Regions from separate parts of the Homo sapiens genome. Here region 2 is linked to region 1. Evidence: promoter capture Hi-C in 16 types of primary human blood cells and fetal thymus (Javierre and others, 2016). All regions are on one chromosome and are shown on one strand. The core of a region is centred on a gene start or on the middle of the fragment in contact, and the rest is flanking DNA. Distances in the headings are between cores, read along the strand shown.

Region 1 (3,055 bases), core at 216-2,715:
GGTTTTGGACATGTGCCATTTAAGATATTTGTCAAAAAGTTAAGGGAGGCAGTTGCATAGTCTTCTACAGTGGTCTCAATTTTTCTCTCTCCCCTTGCCTTGCTGCCCTTCCTGTCTCCACAGTTTCTTACTTAGAGCTTAGAGTCACTGTTAACAAAACAGTCAGATTGCATTGTAAAGGTTTTCTTTTCCCTTAGAACACTATATTATAATCTTGTGTAGTAAGCAAGGTACACAGTTGAAGTAAAGTGCTTTCTGATTGTCTTTTCAAGATAAAGTTCCATTTTCTTGAATTCTCTTTATTTGCAAAAATAACACTAAATATTAAAGCTTTCCTTTCTCTTTCCTCCACTGATTATAATATAGTTTTATGAGAAAAATACACTGTTGAAGAAATGTGCTTTTTGATGGTCTTAGTGGGATCAACTCCATTTTCTTTTCTGCAAATTTATTTCAAATAATTTTGTGTATTTATAGGGTACAGCGTGATGTTTTGATCTATCTATACATTATAGAATGCTTCAGTCAAGCTAGTTAATATACCCATCTCCTCATCAATTTATCTTTTCTTTGTGGTGAGAACATTGAAAATAAATTTTAGCAATTTTGAAATATGCATTATTATTAACTGTGATCACCATGTAGTGCAAGAGATCATTAAAACTTATTCTTTCAGTCTGACTCATATTTTGTACCTTTAGATCAACATTTTCCCTTTCCCCATCCCTCATCCCACCTTCCCTGGCCTCTAGTAATCATCCTTCTATAAGATAGACTTTATTAGATTCCACATTCAAATGAGATCATACAGTATTTGTCTTTCTGTGCCTGGCATATTTCCCTTAGCATAACGTTCTCTGGTTCCATCCCTGTTGTTGCAAATGAATTTCCTTCGTTAAGGCTGTATACTATTCCACTGTGTATATTTACCACATTTTCTTTATTTACTCATTCCTCATTGACACTTAGGTTGATTCCATATCTTGGTTATCATGAATAACGGTGAAATCGTACCAGCATTAAAAAGTTCAATTTTCTTGATTTTTCCGTATTTGCAAAGATATTTAAGTCAGCAGTAGCATGTAGAAAATTGCTAGTAATAATAGCTAATAATAATAGCTGTTATTTCCCTTTTCCTCTTTCTCCTCCACCTTAGTAAATAAAACCTGCCATAAAACTGTGATATGGAGAAACAAAATTACCAACCTCACTAAAGAAAACCTCACTAAAAAGGAAAATCTAGCTTATTTACCCCAATGTAACTACTGAGGGCTTTAAACAACTTAAACGTCTCTGCAACAAATTTTGTGCAAACACCTATGCTTGCATCTGGCATTTCCCCTCCCCGCCCTGCGGAAGTGGCCCAGCTCTCAGAGCTCCTCAGACCTCACCCCCAGGGTCCTGGGGCAGCACAGGGTCCTCCCTGGCCCAGGCGCCCGGTGGCCGAGAGCCTGCCCGCGAGCTCAACGCTGCTCAACGGTCTCTGTCCTTGGCTGTGGCTCCTGCGCTCTGGCTGAGCCATGTTCCTTCTCCTCGCCCTCCTCACTGAGCTTGGAAGACTGCAAGCCCACGAAGGTAAGTCCATGGGAGCCTCCCCTTTCTTCTTCGACTTTATAGCTGGGCTGGGCTCTTACTGGGAGCAGTTTCTTGTCATTCTGGGACCCTCCCCCTCTCCCTTCTGGGATCCCATGCTGGTGCTTCTGGTGTGTCAGGGACACCTTTCCACGCCAGGCCAGGGGGAACTAAAGGCCTTAGCGGAGGACCTGTTAGCGCTCTGCATCAGCGCCCATGGTCTCAGTGGCCCACACGCAGTGCGTCTTCTGGCATCTTCCCACTCTGTGAAGGAGGGTGGAGGTGGTGGAGTACTAACTGCCTTCAGCGAACTCCTCAGAGTCCTGAGGAAGCAAGTCTCTCATCGATTCTAAAAGGGAACCAGAGGGGCCTGTAGAACTGCAATGTCTAATTTTTTTTTCTTTTTTTGTGTCTTAGCCATTTTCAATGTGCTGTTGATTATGTAGTGAAATTTGTGGACTAGAAAGAGTGTGAGCACATGAGAGAACTTCTACTTAAAATTTTAGGCGCCACCATGCAGTCCGGGATAAGAACCCGTGCTTGACTGAGACGATTGTTGATGCAAAACAAAGACAAAAACAAACACATTTTCTTACTGCAGGTTCTGAAGGAATATTTCTGCATGTCACAGTTCCACGGAAGATTAAGTCAAATGACAGTGAAGTTTCAGAGAGGAAGGTAAATGATGAGGAATATTTATTCTATATTTAAAGCTTTATGGCAATTTTTATTTACCCTTATATTAAGTCAGATCATACTAATTTGTATTCATTGCCAAATCATAATATTTTGCCTGTGCTATTTTGTCTCCTACCGTGTTTTGATCCTCTTGTTCCCCCATTTCTGCTGCTTATTTCCCTGTCTTTTCTCTTCATCTCTTCTTAACATACTACTTGTTCACAATTTCCAAGAAATGCTCAGCAATCAAACTGGTGGGAAAAAGAAATCAATATAAAATATTCATGACCATGGTTCAGCCAACAAATTAACAAATTTTTTATTGTCCAGTAAATGATGTAGAAATTTGTCATAAGTAAAATTTAGACATGCAAAATTTGACCCACAAGCATCAGTCTTAATAGCACGTAATGTACAAAGAAATTTTAAAAAAGCAAAGAAAAAATAAAAATATCACATTTGCCCTATTATGATGAAAAATATTACAATAAGTAAATATTAACTGGAAAAAGAAGTTGGAAAATTACTAACCTGCCTGCTAGATTAAAAACTGATTAAACTGAAGGCATTCAGTCTTGCATGTTTTCTTGATTGAAACACCTGAAATTGACAGATTTAAAATGTTTTATTTTACAAACTGGAAGTCACAATATAGGGGTTTATATTTCTATGCAGTCAAAATGGGCACAATATATGTCAACTCTGAAAATGTTTCAGGTTGAAAGAGTGATTTTAAAATTATGAGTAAGGAAAAGATTAATCTATTAATTCTATTTTGGCACACAATATTGGGACCTACCATGGC
Region 2 (3,055 bases), core at 242-2,741, 220 kb before region 1:
AGAGATAGATGGTGGCCGGGTGCGGTGGCTCACGCCTGTAATCCCAGCACTTTGGGAGGCCCAGGTGGGCTGATCACAAGGTCAGGAGATCGAGACCATCCTGGCTAACACGATGAAACCCCGTCTCTATTAAAAATACAAAAAAATTAGCCAGGTGTGGTGGTGGGCGCCTGTAGTCCCAGCTACTCGGGAGGCTGAGGCAGGAGAATGGTGTGAACCCGGGAGGCGGAGCTTGCAGTGAACCAAGATCGCACCTCTGCACTCCAGCCTGTGGGACAGAGTGAGACTCCATCTCAAAAAAAAAAAAAATAGCTTATTTACAGAAATAATAGAAGAGAAAACTCTCCAAACCTAGAGAAAGATATACTCCACGTACAGGAAAAGTCAAAAGTCTCCAATTAGATTCAATCCAAATAATCAATAAATGTATATGTTCTAATTGATCCCTATCCAGCCATTCCCCTGTCTTTCCCTCTCCACAGGCTTTTCTGTTCCTTGAAACACAACAATATTGACATTAGACCAATTAATAACCATACATGGCCTCTAAGCGTTCACCAGAAAGAAAGTTTCATGTTTTTCATTTTAAGTCAAAAGCTAGAAATGATCAAGATTCCTGCGACAGGCATGTCAAAAGCTGAAATAGGTTGAAAGCCAGGACTTTGTGCTAAACAGTTAGCCAAGTTAGGAATACAAAGGAAAGTTCTTGAAAGAAAGTAAAAGCACTAGCCCAGTGAACACACAAATGATAAGAAAGCAAAACAGGCTTATTGCTGATATGGAAAAAGTTTTAGTGGTTTGGATGGAAGATCCAACCGGCCACAACATTCCCTCAAGCCAAAGCCTAATCCAGAGCAAGGACCTAACTCTCTTTAATTTTATGATGGCTGAGAGAAGTGAGTAAGCTGCAGGAGAAAATTTTAAGCTAGCAGATGTTTGTTTATAAGATTTAAGGAAAGAAGATTTTTCCATAGCATGAGTGCAAGGTGAAGCAGCAAGTGCTGATACAGAAGCTGCAGCAAGTTATCCAAAAGATCTAGCTAAGATCATTGATGCTGGTATCTACACTAAACAATGGATTTTCAGTGTAGATGAAACAGCCTTTTATTGAAAAAAGATGCTAATATAGTTTGGCTATTTGTCCCTATCCAAATCTCTGTTAAATTGCAATCCCCACTGCTGGAGGTGGGGTCTGGTGGGAAGTGTTTGGATTTTGGGGGTGGATCCCTCATGGCTTGGTGCTATCTTCACGATAGTGATTAAGTTCTCATGAGATCTGATTGGTTAAAAGGGTGTGGCATGTCTCCCTTCTCCCCCAACCAACTCCCTCTTGCTTTGGCTCCTGTTCTTGCCATGTGATGTGCCTGACCTCCTTTGCCTTCTGCCATGAATGGAAGCTTCCTGAGGCCTCCCCAGAAGAAGATGCCACTATGTTTCCTGTACAGCCTGCAGAACCATGAATCGATTAAATGTCTTTTCTTGTAAAGTACTCAATCTCAGATACTACTTTATGGCAGTGGAAGAATGGCCTAATACCGATGCTTTCTAGGACTTTCATAGCTAGAGAGAATTTAATGCCTGGCTTCAAAGCTTTAGGCTGACTCTCTTGTTATGGGCTAATACAACTGGTGACTTTAAGTTAAAGCCAATGATCATTTATCATTCCAAAAATCCCATGACCCTTAAGAATTGCGCTAAATCTGCTCTGCCTGTGCTCTATGTTGGAACAACAAAGCCTGGATGACAGCATATCTGTTTACAGCATGGCTTAATGAATATGTTCAGCTCATTGTTGAGACCCAATACTCAGGAAAAAAAGATTCCTTTGAAAACATTACTGCTCATTGACAATGCGACTAGTCACCCAAGAGCTCTGATGGAGATGTATAAGCAGATTAATGTTTTCATACCTGCTTAACACAATATCCATTCTGCAGCCCATGGTCAGACAAATGATCAAGGAGTCATTTTGACTTTCAAGCCTTATTATGTAAAGACTCTAGCTGCCATAGATAGTGTCTTCTGATGGGTGTGGGCAAAATTATCTAAAAATCTTCAGAAAGGATACACCATTTAAAATACCATTAAGAACATTTGCAATTCATAGATGGAGATCAAAATATCAACATTAACAAGAGTTTGGGAGAAGTTGATTCAAACTTTCATGGATGACTTTGAAGGGTTCAGGATTTCAGTGGAGGAGGTAGATGCAGATGTGATACAAATAGTAAGAGAACTAGAATTAGAGTCTGAAGATGTGACTGAATTGCTGCAATCTCCTAATAAAACTTGAATTGATGAGGAGTTGCTTCTTATGGATGAGCGAAGAAAGTGATTTCTTGAGATGGAATATATTCCTGGTGAAGGTACTGTGAACATTTTCAAAATGACAATATAGGATTTGGAATATTACATAAACAAAGTTGATAAAGCAGTGACAACATTTGAAGGGATTGACTTCAGTGTTGACAGAAGTTTTACTGTGAGTTAAATGCTATCAAACAGCATTGCATGCTACAGAGAAATCTTTCAGGAAAGAAAGAGTCAATTGATGTGGCCAATTTCATTGTTGTCCTATTTTAAGATATTGCCACAGCCACTTCAATTGTTAATAGCCATGACCCTGATTAGTCAGCGCCATCAACATTGAGGCAAGATCCTCCAGCAGCAAAAAGATTACCAGTAAACTGAAGGCTCAGATGATTGTTATCACTTTTTATCAATAAAATATTTTTTAATTAAAGTATGTATATTTTTTAGGCATAGCGCTATTATACACTACAATATAGTGTGAACACAACTTATATGCACTGGGAAACCCCAAAACTTATGTGGCTTGCTTTATTACTGTATTTGTTTTACTGAGGTTCTCTAGAACTGAATCCACAATACCTCTGAGGTACATCTATATATAGAAAACTCCACCAAAAAAACAAAACAAAACAAAAAAAAAACAACTGTTAGATTTAGTACATAAATTCAGTAAAGTTGTAGGATACAAAATGTACATACTAAAGTCAGTGGTGTTCCTATACATTAATAGTGAATTATCTCA

The links. Contacts are between HindIII fragments. The CHiCAGO score rates a contact against its expected background, and 5 or more counts as called.
Region 2: a contact is called between a fragment that was not itself captured here and the fragment with the promoter of ADAM18 in region 1, in 1 of 17 cell types (non-activated CD4 T cells). The highest score is 5.7, in non-activated CD4 T cells.

Annotation. Positions count from the first base shown.
Region 1 is chr8:39,583,103-39,586,157 of GRCh38, forward strand. ADAM18 (ADAM metallopeptidase domain 18) reads left to right here and starts at 1,466. Exons shown (of 20, transcript NM_014237.3): 1 at 1,466-1,575; 2 at 2,174-2,250. The coding sequence starts at 1,521. RefSeq lists an enhancer at 1,632-2,131. The HindIII fragment of the contact is 1,955 bases long and covers 329-2,283 here.
Region 2 is chr8:39,358,256-39,361,310 of GRCh38, forward strand. It overlaps the pseudogene ADAM5. Among named protein-coding and RNA genes, the nearest start is that of ADAM18, 220 kb to the right of the region's middle. The HindIII fragment of the contact is 193 bases long and covers 1,396-1,588 here.